7 separate regions of the Homo sapiens genome follow, and all the other regions are linked to region 1. The links are contacts of gene promoters, found by promoter capture Hi-C in blood cells and fetal thymus (Javierre and others, 2016). All regions are on one chromosome and are shown on one strand. The core of a region is centred on a gene start or on the middle of the fragment in contact, and the rest is flanking DNA. Distances in the headings are between cores, read along the strand shown. Region 1 holds the start of PTGFRN (prostaglandin F2 receptor inhibitor). Region 2 overlaps IGSF3 (immunoglobulin superfamily member 3). Region 3 has its middle 22 kb from the start of LINC02868. Region 4 has its middle 22 kb from the start of CD2. Region 5 has its middle 5.1 kb from the start of CD2. Region 6 overlaps TTF2 (transcription termination factor 2). Region 7 overlaps CD2 (CD2 molecule).

What was found. The method cuts DNA at HindIII sites, captures the fragments that hold promoters and counts their contacts. A CHiCAGO score of 5 or more calls a contact.
Region 2: a contact is called between a fragment that was not itself captured here and the fragment with the promoter of PTGFRN in region 1, in 2 of 17 cell types (fetal thymus and activated CD4 T cells). The highest score is 5.7, in fetal thymus.
Region 3: a contact is called between a fragment that was not itself captured here and the fragment with the promoter of PTGFRN in region 1, in 5 of 17 cell types (naive CD8 T cells, non-activated CD4 T cells, total CD8 T cells and 2 more). The highest score is 6.1, in naive CD8 T cells.
Region 4: a contact is called between a fragment that was not itself captured here and the fragment with the promoter of PTGFRN in region 1, in 8 of 17 cell types (non-activated CD4 T cells, naive CD4 T cells, naive CD8 T cells and 5 more). The highest score is 8.3, in non-activated CD4 T cells.
Region 5: a contact is called between a fragment that was not itself captured here and the fragment with the promoter of PTGFRN in region 1, in 2 of 17 cell types (naive CD4 T cells and M1 macrophages). The highest score is 6.6, in naive CD4 T cells.
Region 6: a fragment that was not itself captured here is called in contact with the fragment with the promoter of PTGFRN in region 1 in 2 of 17 cell types (naive CD4 T cells and non-activated CD4 T cells); the score reaches 5.2 in naive CD4 T cells.
Region 7: a fragment that was not itself captured here is called in contact with the fragment with the promoter of PTGFRN in region 1 in 1 of 17 cell types (naive CD4 T cells); the score reaches 5.2 in naive CD4 T cells.

What each region holds. Positions count from the first base shown.
Region 1 is chr1:116,908,068-116,912,084 of GRCh38, forward strand. PTGFRN (prostaglandin F2 receptor inhibitor) reads left to right here and starts at 1,849. Exons shown (of 9, transcript NM_020440.4): 1 at 1,849-2,185. The coding sequence starts at 2,137. The HindIII fragment of the contact is 4,060 bases long and covers 1-3,518 here.
Region 2 is chr1:116,661,008-116,665,024 of GRCh38, forward strand. All of the region lies in intron 2 of IGSF3 (immunoglobulin superfamily member 3), which reads right to left. Among named protein-coding and RNA genes, the nearest start is that of IGSF3, 4.7 kb to the right of the region's middle. The HindIII fragment of the contact is 806 bases long and covers 1,388-2,193 here.
Region 3 is chr1:116,713,789-116,717,805 of GRCh38, forward strand. It overlaps the pseudogene GAPDHP64. Among named protein-coding and RNA genes, the nearest start is that of LINC02868, 22 kb to the left of the region's middle. The HindIII fragment of the contact is 2,739 bases long and covers 848-3,586 here.
Region 4 is chr1:116,730,398-116,734,414 of GRCh38, forward strand. No RefSeq gene overlaps it. Among named protein-coding and RNA genes, the nearest start is that of CD2, 22 kb to the right of the region's middle. The HindIII fragment of the contact is 4,954 bases long and covers 1-4,017 here.
Region 5 is chr1:116,747,314-116,751,330 of GRCh38, forward strand. No RefSeq gene overlaps it. Among named protein-coding and RNA genes, the nearest start is that of CD2, 5.1 kb to the right of the region's middle. The HindIII fragment of the contact is 1,551 bases long and covers 865-2,415 here.
Region 6 is chr1:117,071,856-117,075,872 of GRCh38, forward strand. It overlaps TTF2 (transcription termination factor 2), which reads left to right. Exons shown (of 23, transcript NM_003594.4): 4 at 1,806-1,872; 5 at 3,015-4,004. Among named protein-coding and RNA genes, the nearest start is that of TTF2, 14 kb to the left of the region's middle. The HindIII fragment of the contact is 827 bases long and covers 1,743-2,569 here.
Region 7 is chr1:116,764,226-116,768,242 of GRCh38, forward strand. It overlaps CD2 (CD2 molecule), which reads left to right. Exons shown (of 5, transcript NM_001767.5): 4 at 259-381. Among named protein-coding and RNA genes, the nearest start is that of CD2, 12 kb to the left of the region's middle. The HindIII fragment of the contact is 976 bases long and covers 1,728-2,703 here.

The DNA of each region.
Region 1 (4,017 bases), core at 599-3,098:
GGAAACTTCCCTGCGAGATTCTAGGGAAGAATTGGGATGGGGAAGAGAAAGGAATTACAGTGTGTATGAACAGAACCAGGAAAGGCTTGGCGGCAGAAATAAATTTTAAAAAAATTATTGTGTAAAATGTACATAGCACAAAATTTACCATTTTAACCTTAAAAATTTTTTTTTAGAGACGGTGTCTCACAATGTTGCCCGAGTGGTCTCAAACTTCTAGCCTCAAATAAAAAAAAAAAAGAAAGAAAAAAGAAAAAGAAGAAAAAGTGCCAGCCCAGTGGCTCAGACCTGTAATCCCAGTCTTTGGGGAGGCCGAGGCGGGAGAATCGCTTGAGCCCAGGAGCTCGAGACCCGCCTGGCCAACATAGGGAGACTCCAGTGTCTACAAAAAATAAAAACAATTAGCGAGAGTGTGGTGGCACACATCTGTGGTTCCAGCTACTTGAGAGGTGGAGGTGGGAGGATTGCTTGAGCCTGGGAGGTCAAGGCAGCAGTGATCCCTGATCGCACCACTGCACTCCGGCCTGGGTGACAGATCCTCATTTTGAGACCCTGTCTCAAAAATGAAAGAAAGAAAGAAGACAAAACAAATAAAAACTCCTGGCCTCAAGCAACACCATCCCTGCCCCCCGCCTCCCCCTGCCCCCCCAACCTCAGCCTTCTGAGTAGCTAGCATTACAAGTACCAGTTACCAGGCCTGGCAATTTTAAACATTTCTAAGTGTACCATTCAGTGGCATTAAGTACAATAACGTTGCACCACCAGGAATGAATTTTTAAGTCTCTTTCCAAAGATACCTGGCTAATCACACATTTGATAGTGGGGAAATAAGAAACATTTGTTGGTTGAAAGACGGATGCATGAGAGTAAAAGCAGTGTTCTTCCCCAGTGTGGGCAGTTTCCGCATAAGCATCTGCGATCCGTTTTGCATGTGAATGAAAGCCCAGTGACGGGCAGTGGGCACCAGTGCTGCTCCTTGCGTGTTTGAATCATGCTTGCTAAGTTTCAAGCAAGGAATGCTCCATTTCTCCCAACCAAGTCGGGCCTTTTGTATTCAAATCAAAAGCACAAAACTCTATTGTAGGGGGAAAAATGAGTCTTTATTGGCAATCAGTGGTGTCCACTTAGAGCAATAAATATTAAGTCTTAAGAGTACATTCTATATGAAGTACTATAGCTATTAATACACTTGGGTTTTGTTTGTTTTTTAAATGGGTGTCTTTGTGGGGTGCTGTTCTAATCAGTGCCACAGGCGCCGAGGAGAGGGAGGGAGCTGGGTAAGGAAGGAGACAGGCCCACCCTAGCCACCGGGGAGTGGGCAGAGTCAGGAGAGCGGGGTTCTGATTTTGCCCCTTCCCTGTGAATCCTTGGGCACCTCACCGAAACACTTAAGGCCTCTGTATGGTAGAGGTTGGAATCCGTGGCCTTTAAAAGTCCTTTCAGCTCCTTCGCTCCTATCTGCATAATTTTTGGCATAGGCCAAGCGGCTGGTTGGTGGGGTGTTTAGCTCAGGACGAGAGGCCGAACGAGCGGGGAGTTGGCTGAGGATAGACTAGACACGCGTGGGTGACTCCAGCGTGATGGAACGCGGGGTGTCCCGGGATAGGGCTAAAGCGATGGGATTTCCAGACGAGTCTTTCCCAGGCCAACTTTTAAAGGTCGGAGGAAAGTTTCTCGTGGGGTGGGGGCCCAGAGGGGATGGCAGGGTGGGCTCCGACGCCTCCTCGCCTTTAAGCGGGTGGCCCCGGCTCTTCCTCCGTTACCTGGAGCGGGGAGGGGCTTGGGAAAGTTTGTGTTTGTTGCTGGCAAAGCGCCGGATGGGAGGCGCGGGCGGGCGCTGCGGTTCTTCCCTTCTGCTTTCGGGAAGCGGTCGGGGCTGCACACTCGGATCGGCGGGGCCGGCTCCCGGGCCCGGCCGGCTGGAGGAGGGAGGGAAGGAGGCGGGAGGGAGCGAGCGGAGCCAGGGGCGCACGTACGCCCCAGCGCTGGGATTTATCGGCTCGCGAGGAGAGCGGAGCAGGCGCGCGGCCCAGGCGGAGGAGCGCCGACTCTGGAGCAGCCGGAGCTGGAAGAGGAGGAGGAGGAGAGGCGGCGGGGAAGGAGGAGGAGGGGGAGAGTCGCTCCCGCCGGGCGAGCATGGGGCGCCTGGCCTCGAGGCCGCTGCTGCTGGCGCTCCTGTCGTTGGGTGAGTGTGCGCGGGGCTCAGCGGGGCACACGGGGACTGGCGAGGCCCTGGAGGGCTCGGCGGGGCGCGGCTGCAGCGCGCGGCCTGGGGCGCCGAGGGTGCCCGGGCTGCTCCCGGGAAACCCGGCCGGGGTGCGCGGGTTGTTCGGCCCGGCGGGGAGCGGCCGCGGGGCCGCCCGGAGCCTGGCGCGAATCCGCTCGGGCCCCGCGCGCGGGGTGCAAGTGGCCGCTCCGCCAGGCCGAGCCTCGCCCCCAACATGTGCCGGGGGGAGTGGCCCGGGGCCGTCTTTCCCCCAGGTCTCCCTACCTGTTGGCCGCCGGGAGCCCGGCTCACCTTGAACTCCCGGCCCGGAAGGTGCTGCGGTCCCGGCCCGGGTCCTCGGCTCGAGAGCGGAAATGTGAGCCTTTGATATGCCCCGCCATAGCCGCCGCCGGCCGGGTCGCTCTTCACCCAACCCGCGCGGAGTTGCCTTTCCAGGGAAGCGAGAGAATCCTCCAACTTCCTTCCACGAAGGTCACAGGGTGGCCCGGAGCGTTACAATGGAAATCGGCGGGCGAGTCCTGCCGTCATTTTCGTCGTGGCTAGATCTTCTGCCTCAGTCTTTTCTTTTAGCTTTTCTTGAAGCTGCCTAGCTGCGTATTTATACACAAAGACCTAAAAGCCTGGCTTCTCCAACTTTTTCTACCTGTTACTTTCCCTCCCTTACTATCCCCTCGTCTTCCACCCTCCGGAAACCCTGGGTGCCCCGTGAGGTTTTGGCCCAGCGCCCTCCCCCCACCCAAGGAATCTTTTGTGGGTTTTTTCCCTCTCCATTTTCCATTCACTCCATACACAGACACCATCTTCACGTAGATCCACATGGTGATCCTAGCCAGCCACGGAAATATGTTTATTAAGTGCCCACCATGGTACCCCAGGGCCGACTCTTAAATGTTTTGATATTCTTGGATCCTTGTTGTCAGTGTCAACCAGGACAAGATGATTCCTGTGACCTGGCCTGGGGTTCTCTTCCAAGCCCCTAGAGAAGGCGGCTCTGAGTCTTTCACAGAGCGCATGATGTGCGGTGTCCGTGCCATTCAGGTCCCAGCTGCACACAGGGCAAATGATTACTCTGCACTTATGGTCAGAGGGTTCCAGAGGAGGCCTTCTATAGCTACTCCCCTGCTGGGGACACCGGGGCCCACACTGCTGTAACCCCCATGACTCCTGCTGCTGATGAACCAGCCTTGCTGGCTGCTGTGTTTTCTTCCTTCACCTTGAAGGGATTTTCTGAACTGACTCCCTCAGAGAGCTCGTCCAGCCACATTGCTTCAGCTTCAGCCCATGTGCAGAAAGCTTCCAGATCTTCCACTTAGTTTTATGGCATCTTTTCTATAGTCCCTGATCCTAGTGCTTTATTTTTATTTTTGAAACAAAGCCTCAGTCTTTCACCCAGTCTGGAGTGCAATGGCACAACCACAGCTCACTGAAGCCTCAAACTCCTGGGCTCAAGTCATTCTCCCACCTCAGTCTCCTGAAGTGCTGGAATTACAGGCATGCTCCACCACACCCGGTGGTAGTGCTTTTAATCTTTACTTTTCACTCTGGGACCCTTGTAAGTTGTATGTTAGTGGCGCACTGCTGTTATAGTCCACACACATTAATTGACTTTATGTGTCTGGGTCAAGCAGGGCCATGGCCTAGGTTTGCACAGATGGTGCACTGTACAACTTCGGGAGCTGCTGTTCACTTTGTAGTCTGTGTGAATAACTCCCCCTAGAGCTGTGCAGTTCTCTGAACAACCTGGGTACCAGTTATGAGGGTGGGATGAGGTAGAACTTTGAAAACAATGC
Region 2 (4,017 bases), core at 541-3,040, 250 kb before region 1:
CTGGGCCAGGTGTGGTAGCTCACGCCTGTAATTTCAGCATTTTGGGAGGCCAAGGCAGGCGGATCACGAGGTCAGGAGTTTGAGACCAGTGTGGCCAACATAGTGAAGGCCCATCTCTACTAAAAATACAAAAAAATTAGCCGGGTGTGGTGGTGTGTGCCTGTAATCCCAGCTACTCGGGAGGCTGAGGCAGGAGAATCGCGTGAACCCAGCAGGCGGAGGTTACGGTGAGCCAAGATCGTGCCACTGCACTCCAGCCTGAGCAACAGTGTGAGACTCCATCTCAAAAAAAATAAAATAACTGAACACCTGCTTACTTTGCATGGCACAAGGCTGAGTTCTGGGACTACAGTAATGAACATGACAGATGGTCTTCAAGAATTTTATACAGAAGGTCATGCTATGTAAAGTGTTTAGCACAGTGACTGGCACATAAGCACTCTATAAACACTTTAATACTCACTGATAAAACCACAAAATGTAGTGTTTAATTATATGCTGATTTAGGTTGCTTCCTATGAAACAAACGTTGGTTCATCTAACTCATGCCTTCCTAACAAGCCTTCTTAGAAGCCAGAGGCTCGGCTTCAGAGTCAAACGGAATAGCTTATTAGATGTAAGAACACAGGATTTGGAACCAAATGGTCCTGGCTTCAAAACCCTACTCTGCCACTTTTTAGCTTTGTGACTATGGCAGAGATGGGCAGCTGTCCCCCAAAATCTGTTCTCTCCTTTCCCTACAGTCATAGAATCCCAAGTTTTTCTCAGGACACATGGACCCTCAGGATAAGCATATTTTCCAGCCTTCTTTGCAGCTAAATATGGTCACATGACTAGGTTCTAGCCAATGAGAATGTTAGTGGAAGTGATGTATATAACTTCCAGGAAGTATCCTTACATTAAGAGGTCCTACCCTTCACTAGCCTTTTCTTCCTTCCTGATGGCTGCGGCTAGAAGAGTCATCTTGGACCATGAAGTCATCTTGGGAATAGAGAGCATGCACATGGAGCAAGACAGCAGGAGCTTGGAGCCCTAACACTGTCAGCAATCTATCTTAGGCAAGTGACTCTTTTTTTTTTTTTGAGACAGAGTTTTGCTCATTGCCCAGGCTGGAGTGCAACGGCGCGATCTCGGCTCACTGCAACCTCTGCCTCCTGGGTTCAAGCGATTCTCCTGCCTCAGCCTCCCGAGTAGCTGGGATTACAGGAATGTGCCACCATGCTCGGCTAATTTTTGTATTTTTAGTACAGACGGTGTTTCACCATGTTGGCCAGGCTGGTCTCAAACTCCTGACCTCAAGTGATCCACCCGCCTCAGCCTCCCAAAGTGCTGCGGTTACAAGCATGAGCCACCATGCCCAGCTTAGGCAAGTTACTTAACCTCCCTAAGCTTCAATCTCCCCATCTATAAAAATGTGATAATGCAAGGTATCTATCTTACAGGGTTGTTTTGAAGACTGATTGATATAGTTGGGTCACAGTAAGGGCTAGAGTTAGGAGAGCTGGTATTACTGCCATTATGGAAGTACCAGCAGTCTTGCTGCCATGAAAACCGTAGAAGATGGCAACATCTTAACACAGCCCTGGGTACCTGGAGGTAGCTCAATGATTCTCACAGCTGAAAGGCATCCTAGTAGGCCAAGTCCTCCTGACAAGAATTTCCTTCTCCTGCACCCTTGTCAAATGGTCCCCAGGAAAGGGAAGTGCACTACCTCTGGGACAACTATTAGGACAGTGGTGTTTGTTCATCCATAAATCACAATCCTCATCCCCTTCTTTCAGAACCCTTCTCCTGATTGCTCCAAACCATCTCACTTTTCTCTGCCTCCTCTTTCTCCTCTGCCTTTGATCACTCCAGCCCTGCCTCTGAGGTCACACCCATAGTACTTCAAAGTTTCTTTCAATCCCTTTCAGAAGCCTTTTCTAACTAACTGGGAAGTAAGAGATGGCTTCCTCAGCCTTACCGTATTCAAAGAAGAGACTTCCCAAACTCTACAAATGAACTTCTCTCCCTCTGGAGCAGAACACAAATGATCATTTGCCATCTACAGGTTCTCAGATGTCCCAATCTCCTACATTTTTCATTGCTAACACTTTTAAAGCTATTTAATCTTGTTTGCAACATCAGCACTGGTCTGGGAGGTATATAACTCTTCCTGGCTACACAAAATCAAAATGTGCTGTATGTGTCTAAAGCTTATATTCATCTTTCCTGAGAATTTCCTTCCTGTTCTTACAGACACAAATCCTATGCTCTCTTTCCCACATTGCTGTCATCTTCCCATGTCACTGTCACTCATGCAGGCTGCTCCCAGACAGAGGCACTTTTCCAGTCACCCTTCCCTTCCTACCACTGTACCAGCCTCTATTCTCTCTCTAATCTTCTGCCCCTCTGGCCACATCTATCCTCAAATAGAGACTTTACTACCCTCATGGTTCAACCAGAGCCAGGCTTAAATGGCTTTGTAATTGGAACCAAGGGTTGTGGTGGCAGAGCCATGCACTGCCACCACAACCCTTATTGGGTGAGGCACCTAGGGTTAGGACAGAAGGAAACAACACACAGAGGTCAAGGGGGTAGGTACAAAGACAAAGGGTAGGACAAAGACATAAGCAGGAATCAGTATCCCAACAGACAGAAAAGAGGAATCTGATTCCAATCCCAGACACTGGCAAAGGACAGGTGCAGAAAAGCACAGGTCTGTCATGTTGAGGGAGATGAAAGCGTCTCCGAGATTTACCCTGTATACCCCTCACATACTGTCCAGGGTTTTCTAACTAAAATTGCCATTTCTAGAGGCTGGTACCTGCATCGGTCTCACTTTCAGAGCACTTAGCCTTATCCAACTTTTTTAAACAAAATTTTATTCCAGGCATGTGACCTATATGGGCTTAAAACCTTGGGATTCTTCGCTGTTTTAAATTCATACTACACATTAATTCACATTATGCAGCAAGAATGCTGACACATGAACCAGACCACATCAGAAGACAAGCAGGAAATAAGACCCCAACATGGGTTTTGCTCCCTCCCCAAACGCCTTCTACCTCTCCCAGATTAGTAAAGTAGTAGCCAGGCCTCCTTCCTGCCATACTGAGAGCCATCAGGTGAAGAGAAAGATGAGGTTCCACCAGTGGGGCTCCAAATCAGGCAGAGATCCACATGCATGCCTACAGTTCCAAACCTTCCCACTTCAGCCTGCATCTGGATGTCTGCCACTGTGCCCCTTTAAAGCCACCTTGATGCTCATTTTCCTCCATGGCACCTGTTTACACATGAAGATGAGGGTGGAGGGAAAATGACAGCACCTGCCAGGTGCCAGGGCCCGAGCTCCACTCCACAGAGTGGCCCAGAGAGCGAACAGCAGGGGGACCAGCATGCAGCCTTACATTACTTGAGCAGCCAGAAGAAACAAAAGGCACAAATGTCACATTGCCTTGTTTTCCCATTGATGGTTACTTCTCCTGCCCTGGGCCCCACCCTGCCACTCAGCCCTCTTTCCCGCCTTAGCCACACACCCCACCCCACATCCAAACCTCCCCAAGGGCTTTCCTTGTTTGTGTCCTGTTGAATCCACATGAATCACTAATTGCTGATTTAAACCCAGACACTAAGCGAATGACACATACAGTACAACAAATACAGATCCAATATGAAGAGACTGGCAAATGAAGGGCTCCCTGCCTTCTTGACTCTGCCTGAGCATACAGGTGACATGGAGACACTGCCTGTATCCCAGCCCACAGCTGAACAGAAGACTAACTAAACTACCAGCAGGGTGTCTGCATGCGTTGGGTGGTAGGGCACTGGCGCTAGTGAACTCACCCACTGGTTCTCTACTGAACCATGCATGGAATTACCTGAGATAGCTCAAAGGCTGAGACCTGGGTCCCACTCCCTAAGCGAGTTTGGTTTCACTGATCTGGGGTTGTTGCCTGAAATCAGAATTTTTAAAAGCTTCCCCAGTGATTCCAACATGCACACGAGAGTTTGAGAACCACTGATTGCACAAATCTA
Region 3 (4,017 bases), core at 967-3,466, 190 kb before region 1:
TCTCTTCCTCTCATGCTGTCACTGGGGCTGGTGGTCTGGGGGTCTTACTCCTTGGAGGCCATGTGGGCCATGAAGTCCACCACCCTGTTGCTGTAGCCAAATTCATTGTCATAACAGGAAATAAGCTTGACAAAGTGGTCATTGAGGGCAATGCCAGCCCCAGTATCAAAGGTGGAGGAGTGGGTGTCACTGTTGAAGTCGGAGGAGACAGCCTGGTGCTCAGTGTAGGCCAGGATGCCCTTGAGGGGGCCCTCTGATGCTGCTTCACCACCTTCTTGATGTCATCATATGTGGCAGGTTTTTCCAGACAGCAGGTCAGGTTCCTGGCCAACACATTGTCAGTGGGGACTCAGAAGGCCATGCCAGTGAGCTTCCCATTCAGCTCAGGGATGACCTTGCCCACAGGCTTGGCAGTGCCGGTAGAGGCAAGGATGATGTTCTGGAGAGCCCTGCGGCTGTTATGACACAGTTTCCTGGAGGGGCCATCCACAGTTTTCTGGGTGGCAGTGATGGTGTGGACTGTGGTCACGAGTCCCTCCACAGTACCAAAGTTGTCATGGATGATCTTGGCCTGGGGTGCTAAGCAGTTGATGGCACAGGAAGCATTGCTGACTATCTTGGGGCTGTTGTCCTACTTCTCATGGTTCAAGCCCATCATGAACATGGGGGCATCAGCAGAGGGGGCAGAGATGATGACCCCTTTGGCTCCCCCTGCAAATGAGCCCCAGCCTTCTCCATGATGAAGATGTCAGTGGACTTCACAACATACCCAGTGCCAGCATCACCCCATTTGATTCTGGTGGAATCTAGCTCCTGGAAGATGGTGATGGGATCTCTATTGATGACAAGCTTCCTGTTCTCAGCTTTGACAGTGCCATGGAATTCGCCATGGGTGAAATCATACTGGAACATGTAGACCATGTAGTTGAGGTCATTGAAGGCATCATTGATGGCGACAATATCCACTTTACCAGAGTTAAAAGCAGCCCTGGTGACCACGCACCCAATACAGCCTAATCCATTGACTCCAGGCTTCACCTTCACCATGATGTCTCAGGGATGCAGCTGGCGCTACACGAGAAGATGCAGCTGTCTGTGGAATGGGAGGAGCAGAGAGCCGGGATTTTCTTAATTGCTTCCCTCCCTCACTGCCCCCCCACCGAGGCAGAGTCTTGCTCTGTCGCCCAGGCTGGAGTGCAGTGGCACGATCTCCGCTCACTGCAACCCCCGCCTCCCGGGTTCAAGCAATTCTCCTGCCTCAGCCTCCCGAGTAGCTGGGATTACAGCCATGCACCACCACTATGCCAGGCTAATTTTTGTATTTTTAGTAGAGATGGGGTTTCACCATGTTGCCCAGGCTGGTCTCGAACTCTTGACCTTGTGATCTGCCCACCTTGACCTCTCAAAGTGCTGGGATTACAGGCATTAGCCACTGCTCCCGGCCCTCTTGATTGCTTTTTTAGAAAATTTGTTGTTAGTGTATAGAAACACTACTGATTTTTCTATGTTGATTTTGTATCTTGAAACTTTGAAAAATTTGTTTATCAGTTCTAACAATTTTTGGCAGTCTTTAGGATTTTCTCTAAGACCAGATTGCCAGCCAATAGAGGCAATTTCACATCGTCCTTTCCTATTTAGATGCCTTTTGTATCTTTTGCTTGCCTAATTGCTCTGGCTAGAACTTCTAGCACTATGTTGAACAGAAGTATCAGGAGTGACGTCCTTGCCTTATTCCTGAGCTTAGAAGAAAAACTCTCAGCTTTTCACTACTGAGTATGATGTTAGCTGTAGCCTTGTCATATGTGGCCTTTATTGTGTTGAGGTACATTTCTTCTGTTGAGAGTTTTAATCATGAAAGGATGTTGAATTTTATCAAATTTTTTTTCTATATTGAGATGATGGTTTTTGCCCTTCATTCTGTTAATATGGTGTATCACATTTATTGATTTGTGTATGCTGAACCACCTTTGCACCCCAAGGGTAAATCTCACTTGATCATGGTGCATGATCCTTTTATGTGCTGTTGAATCCAATTTGCTACTATTTTGTTGACAATTTTTTCGTCTATGTTCATCAGGGATATTGGCCTGTAATTTTATTTTCTTGTAGTGTCCTTGTCTGGATTTAATACCAGGGTAAAGGCAGGCTTGAGAAATGAATTTGAAAGTATTCCCTCTGCTTCAATTTTTTGGAAGAGTTTGAGAAGAATTGATATTTTTCTTCTTTAAATATTAGGTAGAATTCAGCTATGAAGCCATCCAGTCCTAGGCTGTTTTTTGATGGGGAGCTTTTTATTACTGATTCAATCTCCTTACTAATTATTGATCTATTCAGATTTTCTATTTCTTCATGATTCAGTTTTGGCAGGTTGTATGTGTCTAGAAATTTATCCATTTCATCTAGATTGGATTTCATAAAAATCCAATTTTTTGGCAAATAATTGTTCATAGTCATTTCTTATGATCCTCTGTATTTCTGTAGCACCAGAAATACAAGCTAAATAGTTTCTACACAGCAAAGGAACCAACTAACAGAATAAAGAGGCAACACATAAACAGGGAGAAAATATTTGCAAACAATTCATCTGTTAAGGAGTTAATATCCAAAACATATAAGGAACTCAAACAACTCAATAACAAGAAAACAATCCAATATTTTAAGTGGAAAAAGGACCTGAATAGACATTTCTCAACAGAAGATGTACAAATGGCCAACAGCAGGGAAATGCAAATTAAAACCACAATGTGCTATCACTTCACACCTGTTTCTAACAGGCCATTATAAGAAAGACAAAAGAGAAATGTTGGTGAGGATGTGGAAAAAAAGGAACCCTTGTACACTGACCGTGGAAATGTAAAATAGTACAGCCATTATGGAAAACAGTATGGAGCTTTCTCAAAAAACGGAAATTAGAATGAACAGATGACCTAGTCATCCAACTTCCGGGTATATATCCAAAGAAATTAAAATCAGTCTGTTGAAGAGATATCTGCACTCTCCTTCTCATTGCAGTATCATTCACAATAACCAAGACATGGAATCAATCTAAGTGTCTATCAACCAGTGAATGGATAAAGAATATGTGGTATGCATACACAATATATGCAACAGAATACTATTCAGCCTTTGAAAAGAAGGAAATTCTGTCATTTGTGACAACATGGGTGAACCTGGATAATATAATGCTAAATGAAATAAAACAGGCACAGAAAAGCACATACAGCATGATCTCACTTATATGTGGAATCTAAAAAAGTTGAATTTCTAGAAGTAGAGTAGAATGGTGGCTACAAAAGGCTGAGGAGTGCAGTGGGGTGGGGAACAAGTAGTGTTGATCAAAGGGTACAAAGTTTCAATTATACAAGAGGAAGATGTTTTTGAGATGGTCTCAGCATGGCACAGCATGGTGACCATAGTTAGTAATAATATATTATAAACTTCAAAATTGCTGAAAGAGTAGACTTTAAATGTTCTCATTGTGCAAGATGATAAGTATGTCAGGCAACAGATACGTTAATTAGCTTAATATAGTCATTCCACGATATATACATATATCAAAGCATCACATTGAACCCCAGCCCTTCTAAGCTTCTAACTGAAATCTCCATGCCACTCATGTATAACGAGAGCCACAGGGAACCTGTAAAAGCCAGTTATGGGCACCTGTTTCAGACATTTGTTCAAATATTTGACATGATTTACAAAGCTCTGTTTGACTTGGCCTCTGTTCTCAACCTCGCTCATACACCCACCTCCTTGTACTTCTCACTCCAGCCACCCTAAATGTCTGTAAACTCCTTGAATGCAGAATGTTCTCTCACAGCACAGGAGCTTTGCATAAACCATATGAGAAACAAGGGCTATCTTGAATCTTGACCTTCTCCCAGTTTTTATGACTCATTGTTGGAAGCCAGACCCCTAGAGTTCACCCACTGCTCAGCTCCAAGTATGTTTTACATACCCTGAGAGACCCCACTCCATCCTTTCTCCCATTCCTGGAATTCTCAACAAATGCTA
Region 4 (4,017 bases), core at 1,097-3,596, 180 kb before region 1:
TTTAGGAGTCCTGGGCTGGGGCCGGGCACGGTGGCTCATGCCTGTAATCCCGGCACTTTGGGAGGCTGAGGTGGGCGGATCACTTGAGGCCAAGAGTTTGAGACCAGCCCTGGCCAACATGGTGAAACCCTGTCTCTACTAAAAATACAAAAATTAGCCAGCCGTGGTGGCGCACACCTGTAATCCCAGCAACTCGGGAGTCTGAGACAGGAGAATCACTTGAACCCAGGAGGTGGAGGCTGCAGTGCACTGTGATCACTCCACTGCACTCCAGCCTGGGCAACAGAGTGAGACCCTGTCTCAAAAAAAAAAAAAAAAAGTCCTCGGCTGGGCTTCCCCTCCTTTCCACAGGCTCCTCCCCTGAAACCAAATCACCCAGGTTGTCCAGTCTTCCATCTGCAGCCAGACAAAGTGCTCTTTGCCCCTCAGCGGCAGGTAACTCTTTCCCTTGCTGTTTCACTGCTTGAACAGAAGACTGTGCCTGGGGCAAGAAGGAAGAAGGGAAACCATGCAGTGAGATGGGCTCCCTGTTAGCAGCTCTGGTACACAGACTGGAGGTGAAGCAAACAACAGCAAAGATGCTAGGGACCTCAAGGCGTTGAGAGCCATGGATAATTAAGTGCTCCTAGTCCAAGACCTTCAAACTTCACTTTTGATTTGTTGACAGCCAGAGGCAATGTCCGTCCCTCTATCTATGACCTGCAGGCACCACAGCTATAGTTTCCCCTGAGCGTTTTGCTTATTCTTCTCATTTAATGCCTATTTTGCTCTGCCCTGACTTGTGGTTCGTCATTTCTGTGTCTGTCTCTCTTATGTCATAAAATTGAAGTCATCTCACTCCTTTGCAACCCACGCATACTTTGGATCCTATAGTCTCCATTTCTATTAACATCATTGCCTAGATTATTCTGGAACCATCTACAGCCTCCTTTCTCCCTCAGCCTTCACAGGTAATAGGTCACCAAATTGCATTTTTATGAGTACCCTCCTTTTCATTCACGCTAGATGCCCTTCATTAAACTTTCTCTGGATGCACTGGACATTGTGGTGGCCAACTTACACCCAGCCCCATTCTCTCAATAACCACCTTTGGCTTTCTTTCCATCACCACATCTCCTCATTTACTTAAGGGATGCCAACTACCCAGAACTCTAGGAATGAAGGCTGTGGCTTATGCCTAACCCAGTCAGTGTAATTCCACCCCACTCCCCCACCTCCCTGTTATTCTCATTGGTTCAGGCTGAGCACATGACCCAGTTCAAGCCAATGAGGCTAGAGAGGACATTTATTGAAGTCTTTGGGAACAAAAAACTTCCTTGCTCTTCTGAGAACACTCCCAGAGTTGAGCCAGGTGCTGGAAGCCATCTTCCCCACTGTATGGGAAGAGGCTACCTGAAAATGAAGCCAATGCAGAAGAAAGCAGAGACAAGAGATATGGAAAGATGAAGAGTCCCAATTTTATTATTCAAGTGCATGGATCCAGCTGTGCCTGAACCACTCCTACACCTTTGTTATGCACCCACATTCTACATCCAATCCATAAGCAGATCCCACCAGCACTGCCTTTGAGAATATTCAGAATCCAATTCCTTCTATGTCTGCTGCTACCTTCCTAGTCCTCTTGCTCAGACTACTGCAGTAGCCCTCACACTGGTCTCACTGCTTCCACAAGTGGCCCAGGAGATCCTTTTAAAACCGTAAGTCGGATCACACTACTGCTCTGCTCAGAACCCTCTAACAGCTCCCCATCCAACTCCAAGATCCTCACCATGACTCTCAGGCCCTGCATGGCCTGGCTGCTCCCGCTGTCCTCCTCTCTTACCACTCTAGCCCTCGCTCAGCCCACTGTATCCTCACTAGCATTTTAGCTTCCACTTCAGGGCCTTTGCACTTGCTGATCTATCTCCCTGGAATGCTCTTCCACCAGATAGCTGCACGGTTTGTTCTCTCTTTCTTTCAGGGTGCTGCTCTATTGCTACCTTTTCAGTTAGGCCATCCTTGACCCCTCCTTCCTAAAATAGCACTTTCTTATAACTCTGTATCCCCTTGCCTTGCTTTATCTTATTTGTAGCACTTACAACCACCTGAAAAAATTATATACTGTCAACTGAAGAATCACAAGGTTCATAAATTTGGAAAGGAGAGCTGTACTTCTCTGCAGGTGACCATTCTGACAGGCTGGAAGTGTAGCCTCTGGCCAGAAGCCAGAAGCAAGGACTTAAGGGTGGGAAGACTAAGACAGGGATTTATGCTGAAGAGGGTGGTCAAATATACATAATCAACAGGTTATAGGAAGAGCTATAAATAGTAGCAAAGGGGAGTTGTGGGCATGCATAGCAGGCTAATGTGTAAAACACGCATCCCGTGTTCGCTCTAGGGTGGAAACTCAACATTTAAATGTATTACAGTTAGGCTCTATATGTCAAAAGGTGAAGCAGGGGACACAAAGGCCCTCTGTGTGCAGCCTCTGTAGACTGGCCCAAACCACCCCATGGTCAGTGGTGTCTAATGAGGAAGGGACTCTGATCAGTTGTTGTACTGAAACAGGGCTGGTTTCTGTTTAACCCTTAGGGAAAAAACCCTAATAGTAGTTAGCAGAAGGGAGTGTAAGGAGATGTGTCCGACTTCCCACTCTGTCATGGCTGGGAAGTCAGTTTTTAAGGTTTCTTTGAGGACTCTTTGGCCAGGCGGGGGACCATTCAGTTGGTTGGGGGACTCGGGATTTCATTTTTATTTCTCAGTGTATATGTGGTTGTTGTTATCTGTATCTACCCTTTAGAACATGCACCCTATGAGAACCTTGGGCTGCTTAGTTTGCTGCTATATATCCAGCTCCTAGAACAGCAGCTGGCAAGTGAGGTACTCAGCAGAGTGCTGTCAACTTACTGATTGGATGAATTAACACATGAGCTAATCATTTTCCTATTTTTGCATGAAGTATTTTCAGTTGAGTTTCTGCCACTTACAAAGTATTCTCACACAACATTTAATTAATATGTTTGCTTAAAAAGTGGACCAATGAGTACCTTAGCTTAGGTTGGGTTGTAGGTTACATCCTCATAGATAACAATACCTGACATGTGACTGTCCCTTTTGAATGCCAAGACACCACATTCAGGGCCCTCTTACATACTTACATTGGTTTTACAATATCAACAGGGCAAATATTGCCTTCCCCCCATATTTCAGGAAAAGTGAAGTGGTTTGGTGGAGTTAAGCAGCAAAGCAGGGACTGGAGCCCACATCTTGTCCCCAGCCCACAGCTCTTGCCACATCTCAGTTTTGCATTTCTGTCCATAGTTCTGCAGCTTCATAGTGTGGCATTCACCCACAGGCCTGGGGGAGTGCTATGAAATCCTGTTCCCATGTGATATCTACTTATCTAACATTTCTAATTCCCTCTTCCCTGAAAGCCAATAAAATTCTAAATCTTTTCCACATGAGACTGTGGGCTTTTTGGGAAAAAGAAAATCAAGCATATGGCTCTCAGAAAATAAAATCTGCTTTGTGAGATAAAAATCTCCCTCCTTGCCCCCACCCTCCCAGCTACCCCATGGTATCACATTCTTTGGAGTTTCATTTTACATGTTGGGGCTGGGACAACAGACACATGTGTGTGCCTGCCTTGAGTGGTCATAATACATTGCAAAAAATCCTTCTGCAACCCCTCTCTTCCAGAGTGGTTTTTTCCTTCCTCAGCTATTCCCCACGGATGACATTAGCTCCCTTTTTAATTCCTTTCCCCTCGCTGCACGCTCTGATGTTACTTACCAACCCCCAGTGGATATGCAGAGGCTTATTCAGTGTCACATGTAATAGATAAAACAGCGGGGGCTTCTAATCGGAAAATGTTTTGCAGGCTGCAAAAGACTATGGAAAACCACAAAGCTGCCAATATGGTCCAGAGTTTATTAATACATATTTGGCACAAGTGTGGCACACAACACTGCCCTGTCCCCCATGGGGGATTAGTTACATGTTTACAGACATAGCATACTGTGGAAGGGGGGCAAGGAT
Region 5 (4,017 bases), core at 390-2,889, 160 kb before region 1:
CTCTGCCAAGTGACTGGATCGGCACTTGCACCCTAATTCAATTGGCCATCCCTTTTATCCTGACATTTCATCAACAAAGCAAAAAAGACAATTGCAAAAAAGAAGTACCATCCCCCCACGGGTCCTTTGACTCTCACATTTATATAGATGCCATCAGAGTTCCACAAGAGTGCCAAATGAATTTAAAACTTGAAATCAAATAGCTGCAGGATTTGAATCTATATTGTTCTCATGGGTAAATGTAAACAAAAATGTAGACTGGATAAATTACATTTACTATAATCAACAGCAGTTTGTCAATTATGCTAGGGATACCATTAAAGGAATAGCTGAACAATTAGGCCCTACCACCCAAATGGTCCGGGAAAATAGAATAGCCCTGGACATGATATTGACTGAGAAAGGTGGGGTCTGTGTCATGATTGGGGTCCAATGCTATACTTTTATCCCTAACAACACAGCCCCTGATGGAACAATTACAAAAGCCTTACAGGGCCTTACCACCCTAACAAATGAATTAGCTAAATTCTGGAATAGATGACCCCTTCTCTGGTCTCATGGGAAAATGGTTTGGAAAATGGAAGAGACTCATAACCTCAATCTTTACCCCTCTTGCAATTGTTATAGGTGTACTCACTCTTGTAGGTTGCTGCATCATACCTTGTATTTGTTGATTAGTGCAAAGGCTTATAGAAAAAGCCCTCATGAAAACCCCTCGATTCTCCCCCACCCTACTCAGATAAGTTCCTACTCCTAAATGACTAAGAGGAGCAACAAAGTCAGGATATGTTAAGGAAATGTGAAGAGGGAGAACTATAAAGTCAAGAGGGGGAAATTTGCCAAAAATAATAAGTTCCTCTTCTAAGCTTCCTTGGTCTTTCTTAATCTGTAATGAGCACTTCGTACTCTGCTTAATCTGTAACGAGCACTTGTTTCTCTGCTTAATCTGTAACTGGCAAACCTCTTACTCTTTAAACAACTCTTTTCACCTAGTTGGTAATGGACAGCCTCTCCCTTCCTGCCTAATTGGCCTTATTCAATTTCAAACACTAGCCAATTGAGTCAGCTTAGACTGTGCGGTCTGACTCCAGCCAGTGGGGAAAGGACACAGAAACAGGAACTGCATTAGGGATAAAAACCCCTGTGCTACCCCGCTTAGTGTGCTCGTACAATCAGAGGGACACAGGCAGCACCCATCTGCAGAAGTAAATGTGCCTTGCTGAGAAATTTTCTGTCTAAGTGCTGGTTTTTCCTTGTGGCACTGAGCACTTATTTCTAACAGTCCTGACTTGACCTGAGCCTTGTTAAGGCTCTCCTTTGACAAAGGGAAAGGGAGGTAGAAGTCAAGACCATCAATATTTTACTAATCAGGGAATAAGAGGTCAACCTAAAGTAAGACCTCCAAGAATATTTTCTTCCTTCTCTGCTTCTTATTCTCTTCCCTGTAGCCTACTTCCCCAGGAGTGTGAGTTTAGGTAAGAAAAAGAATCAATGAAGACAGAGCAAGAGCTAACCTGTACAGTGCAGCAAGAGTGGCAAGGGAGGAGCTGGAATGAGCAACCGAGTAGATGGTCCCCTGAAATGCAAACACTCAGAGGCAGGGACTGCACCTGCCTCAGCACTCAGAACATTTACCGAAGTGACAGGTCCACTTAGAATTAAACATAATTCAATTGAAGGACAATACGTGTTCAATTTAGATATATTAGAATAGCAACAGCAAGCAAGGAGGGCAGAATAGTAGCTATTATCCCACCACACAGGGACCAACACCCTGGGGACATTCTGCAAGAGATGCACCCAACACACGCTTTTTGAGAAATAAAATGGGACTATATTGTTGACTGTGAAGGGTACCAGAAGATGCTGATGTAGGACAGGTAAGCCCCATTGGGGCTTAGCCTGGAGTATTCTTGGCTTCACTCAGGAAAGAATCAAGGGCGAGCTGGTGGTGTTTGACAGCAACTTTTATTGAAGCAGCAGCAGAGGTACTGCTCCTTGCAGAGCAAGTATACACCACAGGCAGTGTGCCCAGAGTATCAGCTTAAAGGCAGTTCTGCAGTCCTATTTATACCCATTTTAATTATATGCAAATTAAAGGGCAGATTATGCAGAAATTTCTAGGAAAAGGGTGGTAACTTCTGGGTCGCCAGGTCATTGCCATGGAAAAAGGTGGTAGAAGTTGGTTATTGCCATGGCAACAGTAAACTGACATGGCACACTGGTGAGCATGTTTTATGGAAAGCTGCTTCCACCTATCTCTGTTTTAGCTAGTCCTCAATTTGGTCCAGTGTCCAAGCCCCACCTCCAGAGTCAAGTTCCACCTCCTACTTCAGTGCCACCCTAAAACATGCCTTTTTAACATATGGTTTTTTTTTGAGCAAAAGGCCATCATGAACCAGCAGAGGCAGTAAAAGCTTTAAAAACATGGCACAATATTTTTCTTTTGTAAAGAAAATTTACAATTTCTGAAGAAAATAGCCGTTTGTAAAAGGTATCTCCCTCTCCTGTATCAGGAAGAGGAGGACTCTTAACAACTCTTATCAATGGAGAAGGCATTGGCTTCAATCTGCATAACAAACCTTACTAAACACATCTTGTTGTTTGGCACACTTTTCCTGGTCATTGGGTAACTTGCCTCCCCAACCTAGAAGCCCCAAATCGCTTTTTCTTTGTTTAGTCTAATATACTCTATAAGTCCAAGTTCTAACATCCCTTTGGGTTACTCACCACTGGGTGCTCCCATGTTTATGAGGGATACACATCTTAATCAACTTCAATGTGCCTTTCCCTTCTTAACCTGTCTTTTCCCAGTCTGGTTTACAGGGCTCCAGCCAGAGAACCTAAGACAAGAAGAGGAAAAAGATTACTTTTCACCTCTCCTACAATTGGGACCTGTTTTTGTCATATTCCACAGCTTGTCTATATCATGATTTACTTAACCAATTTCCTTCTCTTAGACATTTAAATTGTTTCCAATTTTGTCTTTAAAATACTGCAGCATATAAATTTATAGCCAAGTCTAGTACATAGCCTTCATTATTTCCTTATGATAAAATCATCCTTGTGGATTTGTTAGAAATCCACAAATGTTTGATACTCTAATTCACACTGACAAATTGCCCACCAGAAACTATACCTACTTGCAATTCTCCTGGCCATATACAAGAATGCCCATTTACACCATCATCAACACTATGTTTTCATTTTTCAAATGAAGATGAAAAATGCATCTATGTTAAAACTGACATTTCTTTATTAATAAATAGAAATAAAATTTTTCTTTTGTGGATTGCTCCTTTTATGACTTTGACCCATTTTAGTTTTAAGGTGTCTATCTTTTCTATGTTTACAAGAAAAATTTAATACTAAAAATTTAATGTTGGCCAGGCACGGTGGCCCACACCTGTCATCCCAACACTTTGGGAGGCCAAGGTGGGAGGATCACTTGAGCCCAGGAGTTCAAGATGAGCCTGGGCAACATAGTGAGACCCCCCGTCTCTACAAAAAATAAAAAAATTAGCCAGGCATGGTGCCACATGTCTGTAGTCCCAGCTACTCAGGAGGCTGAAGCAGGAGGATCACTTGAGCTCAGGAGGTCAAGGCTGCAGTATGCTGTGGTGCTGTGGTCATACCACTGCACTCCATCTTGAGCAACAGAGCAAGACCCTGTCTCTAAAATTAAAAAAAAATTGTTATGCCTTTGTCATGTATCTTGCAAGTAATTTGCTCCTTTTAGTACGTTGTCTTTAATTTTTTTATGGCTTTTTACATAGAAAGTTTTCACATTTTACAGAGTCAAATCTACTGACCTCTTTCTTTTTCATTGTTTCTGCCCTTGAAGCCATGCTCATCACTCAGAATTGAATTAGTTTTAGAGGAGCAAAATTAATGTTTCAAATAGAGGAACAGAAAGCTGCTCTTCACATGCTCCATGAGGAAAGTGTGAGGAAGAGAGGACAAGCGCCCTCCAAAGCTGAGATGGGTCAGAGGATGGCTGGCGCCACCTTCTCTCCA
Region 6 (4,017 bases), core at 906-3,405, 160 kb after region 1:
GTTGGTGTAAATGTAATTGTGTTTTTTGCCATTAAAAGTAATGGCACAGAGGCAGTTCATGGATTAAACAGGGAAGGGAATGTGGGGAAACCTTGCCAAGCAGGTACGACTTAAGATGGGCCTTGAGGGACCAGTAGGACTTCCGTAGCTGGAGATGGGGGAGATGGTAGACAGATTGGGATGATGAGGATATCCTTTGGATGGAGAGTAGTACCCATGCAAAGTCTAGTAGACTGGAGGGTGCATGGCTTAGTTCGGCAGTGGAACAGCTTAGACACCTCTGGATAGCTGGAGTATGGGCTGTGTTTGTGTGTGCAGGAACTTTCTTGCACTGGGATGTTAAATCTGTATTCAGCCTTCTTTTTTTGGTGGAAGAGTGTAAATATATACAGAAGTAAGATAGGGTACTGTAGCATGAGCTTCAACAATTGCCAGCTCATGGCTACTCTTGTTCTATATGTATCCTATCCACTTCACCCCGTAACTCCTGCCCTATTTTGAAAAAAATCCCAGATAACATTATTTCATCTGTCAATATTTTAGTATGTAGCTTTAAAAGATACGGACTTTTTTTTTTTTTTTTTTTTTGAGACAGAGTCTCACTGTGTCGCCAGGCTGGAGTGCAGTGGTGCAATCTCGGCTCACTGCAACCTACGCCTCCCGGGTTCAAGCGATTCTCCTGCCTCAGCCTCCTGAGTAGCTGGGACTACAGGCATGTGCCACCACGCCGGGCTAATTTTTGTATTTTTAGTAGAGACGGGATTTCACCATGTTGGCCAGGATGGTCTCGATCTCTTGATCTCGTGATCCGCCCACCTCAGCCTCCCGAAGTGCTGGGATTACAGGTGTGAGCCACCGCACCCGGCCAAGATATGAACTATTTTTTAAAAAATATTTGTATGTTTTAGAGAAGGGAGTCTTGCTGTGTTGCCCAGGTTTGAGTGCAGTGGCTATTCACAGGCACAATCTTAGCACATTGCAGCCTCTGGCCTCAAATGATCCTCCTGTCTCAGGCCCCTGAGTAGAGGGGACTATAGGTGTGTGCCACTGCATCCAGCTGCACTCTTTTAACATACCAGTTGGTTTACATATTTTCAGTGGACTCATAAATGTCATAGTTTTTTTTTAGTAGTTTTAATTTGTTTAAATCAGGATCCAAATAAGGTTCACAAATTGGAATTGATTAATATGTCTTTTAAGTCTCTGAAGTTTTCCCTTCATCTTTTTTTCTCCCTCGTAACTTATTTGTGGAAGGGATCAGGTTGTTTGTCCTATAGCGTTTCCCACTGCCAAGATTTTGAAGGTTATATTCTCCACAGTATAGTTTTACGCCTTCTTCTGTTGTTTCTATTTCCTATAAATTGGTAATTGGATCTAGAGGTTAGTTTTTTGTTTGTTTTGGCTTCGTTGTTTTGGGGTTTTTTTTGGGGCAACATTGCTTTGTAGCTAGTGTTGTGACCCCCCTTCAGGGACACACAGTGTCTGGCTGTCTCTCATTTCTCTGATTTTAGTAGCCATTGCTGATCAGTGTTTCTATTTCAGTCATTCGTTACAGACTAAAAAGAATAAACCTGTGTGCATTCTCTGGCTACCATGCCATATTTATTCTTGGACTTCCTAGCCCTTATAAATGTTCTGTGCAGTAAATAATTTTTAAATGTGTATATAAAAGTAATTGGTTTCAAGTGACCTCCCAAAGCCAGGTTCAAATAGTTGCAAGATGTTTTCTTGGATTAAAAATAAGCTTATCTCTTGTTCTAATGGATTTTCATAGCCTTGATTATTTGTGTTTTATACTTCATTAGATTGTTCTTCCGATGCATTAGAAGTAAGGCAGAGGGGAAACGCTGGTGTGGAAGTATTCCATGGCAGGTAGGAATTATTCATCTGTTTTCAAACCTGCTGTGTTAAGACTTTTAATATGCAGCATCACCTGAAAATACCTTGAAGTTCACGTAAATGAGTTGGTCTTCATCAGACTGTCTCCGAAAGATAGTTTTCTTTAAGCAAGGTAGGCCCTGTTGGGACTTTTATTCAAAGGATCATTTAGTCGTAATCAAGATTAATTATTTGCATCCTATTTCACTTAGTAAATATTTTTTGAGGTCTTAAATGTAGTCAGTATTCTTTTACTCAAGGAAAAAAATAGATTTCCTTGACTAACTCTTGTATCTTTTTATAGAGGAATTTCTACTTGATACTGGTATAAGCTAAGTATAAGCATAAGCTCCTAGTATGTTAGAACTAGGAGGAGCATCTCCTAATAGGAGAAGCCCTACAGATATTCAGTACGTGAGGAACTAGAAGTAGGGAGGTGATAAGACTTGTTTTGGCAGAGGTGTGGCTTGAACTTACGATTCTAGATTACCACAGTAAAATCCTCCTAAAGCCAAAATCAAAGCAAGTGTTTTAAGACAATGTTTAGGTTTGGGGAAAAGTTCATCTTAAGAGAATAGTTTTTTTCCTGAAAAGTATACACTGTGGCCATTGTGATTGTAAAAGCACTTTGGTTTGTCACTACTTTTCCTTGAGGCCTGGAAAAGAGTGATCATGGACAGAGAAGGAACCAAGCTTCGAAAGTATCGTGAAGAAATGAGTCCTTTGTGGGTTTGGCACGTCATCTTTTCTAGACGTGGAAATGGTACCAAGAATGTTCAGGAAATATTGGACTGCTTTTACTGTGTTTCCATTTCTTCTGCAGAATAATCCTAAGTGAATTAATGCAGGAACAGAAAACCAAATATCATATGTTCTCACGAGCAGGAGCTAAACATTGAGCACCCATAAACATGGGAACAATAGATACTGTGAACTACTGGAGAGGGGAGGAGGGCATGGGTTAAGAAACTATCTATTGGGCACTATGCTCACTGCCTGAGTGCAATATACTCATATAACAAAGCTGCATATGTACCCCCTGTATATAAAATAAAAGTTGAGATGAAAAGGAAAGGCATTCTAGATACGAAGTTTGTATTAATATTTTATATGAAGATTAATTATTTTGTCTTTAGGATCCTGATTCCAAAGAACATTCTGTATCCAATAAGTCTCAGCATGCATCTGAGACATTTCATCATTCTTCCAACTGGCTGAGAAATCCATTCAAGGTACTTGACAAGAATCAAGAACCAGCTCTCTGGAAACAGCTCATCAAAGGTGAAGGTGAGGAAAAGAAGGCTGATAAGAAGCAAAGAGAAAAGGGAGATCAGCTTTTCGATCAAAAGAAAGAACAGAAGCCTGAAATGATGGAGAAAGACCTCTCATCTGGCCTGGTACCAAAGAAAAAACAATCTGTAGTTCAAGAGAAGAAGCAAGAAGAGGGAGCAGAGATTCAGTGTGAGGCAGAGACTGGAGGCACACACAAAAGAGACTTTTCTGAAATTAAATCTCAACAGTGCCAAGGTAATGAGCTTACAAGACCATCTGCATCTTCTCAGGAGAAATCAAGTGGTAAGAGTCAAGATGTCCAAAGAGAATCAGAACCTCTGAGAGAAAAGGTTACCCAGCTTTTGCCTCAAAATGTTCACAGTCACAACTCAATAAGCAAGCCCCAGAAAGGGGGACCCCTCAACAAGGAGTACACGAACTGGGAGGCTAAAGAAACAAAGGCAAAGGATGGCCCTAGCATACAGGCCACCCAGAAAAGCCTGCCTCAGGGGCATTTCCAAGAGCGGCCGGAGACCCACAGTGTGCCTGCTCCTGGAGGACCAGCGGCTCAGGCTGCACCAGCAGCACCAGGGCTTTCCCTGGGTGAGGGCCGTGAAGCTGCCACAAGCAGTGACGACGAGGAGGAAGATGATGTTGTTTTTGTTTCCTCTAAGCCTGGGAGCCCCCTACTCTTTGACTCGACTCTGGACTTAGAGACGAAGGAAAACCTCCAATTCCCTGATCGAAGTGTGCAAAGAAAGGTGTCTCCTGCCTCAGGTGTTTCCAAGAAGGTAGAACCCTCAGACCCAGTAGCCCGGCGTGTCTACCTTACAACACAACTGAAACAAAAGAAGGTAACTATTGACT
Region 7 (4,017 bases), core at 966-3,465, 140 kb before region 1:
CCTTGGTGCATGAACAATCAGGCATTTCTAGCCCCTGAGAGCAGTTTCCCAAAGAGCCTGCAGAGGGAGCTTCCCAAGGACCTTGGGTCCTTCCAGGGTTGACACCACTCACCACCCTCTGTGAGCCTGGGAGTTATGGGGTGAAAGGTCCCAACAAGCTCTTCTATCTGCTTGATGCAGGAGGCAGCATCCTTGGCCAGAGTAATGGGCTCTCTGCCTGGACCCCTCCCAGCCATCCCACTTCTCTTCCTTTTGCAGAGAAAGGTCTGGACATCTATCTCATCATTGGCATATGTGGAGGAGGCAGCCTCTTGATGGTCTTTGTGGCACTGCTCGTTTTCTATATCACCAAAAGGAAAAAACAGAGGAGTCGGAGAAATGGTAAGCTCCCCCTCTTTTGTCCCACCGCAGGCCCCAGCAAAATCCCCATGAAACAGCTCATGGGGATGACACCTTGAATCTGCAGAGAAAATGATGGAAATAGGTAGTTTCGGAATGTCAGGGTTGTAGTCAGCGGTTATAGCTTGTTTCATTTTGTGGTTAGCTTGATTTTTGAAAAACAAATTCTTAGTGGTGACAATGTGGGAGCTTTGAGACACTGAATCCAGTTGGCCTCATTGGAATCCACCACTGAGGCCTACTTGGTGACAGGCTAATGTGAACATCTTTTGAATGAGCCACACTTCTCTACATAGGCAGAAAGGTTAGCTCCAAAACACCGTTTCTAGGAATAAATGTCCTATCTATGGGTGGCCCAAGGTGAGTTCAGGACCAAGCTCCTAGAAACACAGGGAAAATCATTCAGGTCATCAGGTAGTCACAGGAAAACAGCTGTTCTAAAGCAGGGTGCCTGTGCCCCCTTTGCTAATTCTCTGTTCGAGGGATGTGTTAGGGTTGAGAGTTTTTCCTCAGATCAGGCCTGTCTGACAATCTATCAGCAATGAAAAGGTTATGCTTGCAAGTGGGGAGCCGGCTTAGGGAGCATCCAGGCCACCCAAGGCAGAACACTTCAGAGAATGGCCAACCCGGGGTCACTGTGGGGGGCACAGATGAGGGTGTCAGCCATTGGCGGGACTTGCAGCCAAGGGAACAGGCCCTGGGGTTCTCTGCAATTCACGTTCACAGCAGGACTTGGTCTCTCCCTAGAACCGGCAGGCACAGCCACACCAGCTGCTTCCAGTGCTGCCCAGGGAGGTGGTCCAAACTTCCCCAGGCACCGGTGGCCTTGGGCCCCGTGCCCTCTGGATTTGGCTTCTTTACCTCAGATTTCTTCCTCAGTTCTCCTTCTGCCTCCCCATCAGGCTGCGGTCCCTCAGCCCCACGTCCCATCACGTCACTACCCCCAGCCCAGGCCCCGAAACATCATCCTGAACTTAGTCCCATTCTTCCCACCACGACTGTCCCACACTTTCCACCACAGCACAGCAGAATCGCTGGCAGGGCCCTTAGGCATGCCTGGCTTATCCTCCTCTGTGCCCAGCTCTGGCTGTTCTCCATGCTCCTCTCCATGCTCCTTCTCCATTGACTAATGGTCAAAGACCATATCTTCTTCCAAGGTGGACCTCACTTGTCACCCCAAGACAAGGCAATCTCTGCCATCACCAGGCTGAGAAGAATGATGGTTAGCTCATGCTGATAAAAAAGTCGTTAGTCTCTGTGTTTTATGTCTATTAGTGCATCCAGCTTTCAGAGTGATCTTAGGAGATAGATAACAACACAGATGAGGAAGCTTAAGTTCAGTGAGGTTCAATTATTTGCCTTAAATCCTATGGCCAGTAGGTTGACTCAGGCCTAGGCCGAGGCAAGGAGCCCAGAATTTAAGGCATAGAATTTAAGGAGGCTGGCCTGCCCTTGCACAACCTGAAAGTTGGTGTGTCTTTAAACTGCATGCCTGTCAGCCTCGCTTGCCTCATTCCAGTCATGCCCTGGGTTGAGTAACCAGGAGATGCAAACAAGGGAGAAGGACAATGAGCCTGGAGGAATTCCTGGGAGCACACATTTAGGCGCCAGCTGCAGCTGCTGGAGTGGGTAGGCTGAGGACCCACTGTCCTGCTTGAACCAGGCAGGGTGCACAGAGCCGTAGCCAACCTTGTCTGTCCAACCCTGCCTGCAGTCTCAGCCATGTGGCTACACCCCATTCCTCCTACCAGAGCTCATGTGCCTCTGTCTACACTTTCTGGTGGCCCTGGGCTCTTCACAGAAATTGACATTGCGATTTTCAGTTCTTGTTTGCCTCTTACTTGATTTTAGGCTTCCTGAGGACAATTTGTGTCTAAGTCACAATGACACTTAACACTTGGAAGATGAGGAATAAATGTTGGAAGGACAAATGAACCAAATGGTGTATGGGCCAAGTGTGGTGGCTCATATCTGTAATCTCAGCACTTTGGGAGGCCGAGGCAGGAGGATCATTTGAGCTCAGGAGTTTGGGACCAGCCTGGGCAATATAGTGAGACCTGGTCTCTACTTTAAAAAAAAAACTTAAAAATTAGGTGGGTGCATTGGTGTATGCCTGTAGTCCCAGCTAGTCAGGAGGCTGAGGTGGGTGAATCATTTCAGCCCGGGAGATCAAGAATGCAGTGAGATACGATCACACACTGCACTCCAGTCTGGGCAACAGAGCAAGGCCCTGTCTCAAAAAAACAAAACAAATAAAAAACAAAAATAGTGGGTGAACAGAGTAGTAAACCAATGGCCAGTGCAAGCTTGCCACATAGGAGATGAAGAAGGACCACCCACTGCCCCATAATTCAGAACTAGGGCCAGGGGTTAGAGCCCTCTCCACAGTCTACTGGACATAACCTAAGCAATGACTGCAGGGCACGGAAGATGGCATAGAGGATGTGTTTTGTCCTTTCTGGAGGCCCTTTCCTCTTTGTGCTTAGAGCACACGAGCCATTTAGGTATCAAAATCACATTGTCTAACTTTGACTCTACACTCAAAGCCATCTGATGCTCACATTTCATGTAGTCAGAGGAGGCCATCTGGTTTGAATCAACATCCGGAAGTTACAGGGTGATGCTTAGAGAGGGCTTGTGCTTCCCCAGCCACACATCTCCATAAAGATGTAAGAGGTAATTATTTCAGCTGGGTGCGGTGGCTCATACCTGTAATCCCAGCACTTTGGGAGGCCAAGGCAGGCAGATCACCTGGTCGGGAGTTCGAGACCAGCCTGACCAACATGGAGAAACGCCATCTCTACTAAAAATACAATATTAGCCGGGCGTGGTGGTGAACGCCTGTAATCCCAGCTACTCAGGAGGCCGAGGCAGGAGAATTGTTTGAACCTGGGAGGCAGAGGCTGCAGTGAGCCAAGATCGCACCATTGCACTCTAGCCTGGGCAACAAGAGTGAAACTTCAACTCAAAAAAAAAAAAAAAAAGAGGTAATTATTTCACCCCAGGGAAAAACTTCTCTTCCTACCTCCCTCTGGAGCCACTGCAAAGACGGCCTTGGGTGCAGGGACTGAAATACCTAACTTACAGCCTAAAGGAGTCCAGAGGGGCCAGCAGGGTGCTCCAGGCCTCTAGCAGCTGGGCACCTTCACAGATTCCCTGTGATTTTAAGAGTACAGGAAAAACTACATTACGAGTAGCTGTAGGCCTGCTTTCATGGACTGAAGTCACACAAAGAAGAAAATCCTGAAGGGTGAGGAGAGGAGGAGTTCTTTCCCTCCTAAGGCCAAGAACATAGGTCTTGAATTTCTGAGAAGCGAGTAAATTTCTAAGGACAAAAAGTTCCTTGCATGTGTTCCAACCTCTTGCCGGAAGGTGGATTGCATGACAGTAGAATTGGGGGAAAGGCAGATCTAACATAGAAATGCCTCAGAAGGAATGTAGTTACTAATATCCTCCATGACTGCTCATAACCCCTTCCCATGCGCTCTAACCATGAGGTTCTTGCTCTCAGGGAACAATTTCTAGGTCAGCACAGAGGTAGGGTTCCAGGTCTGCGTGCTCTCTCTGATCATGGGAGCCCCAGGCACAAAGCCCTCCACCCATGTGTCTTCTTCCTGC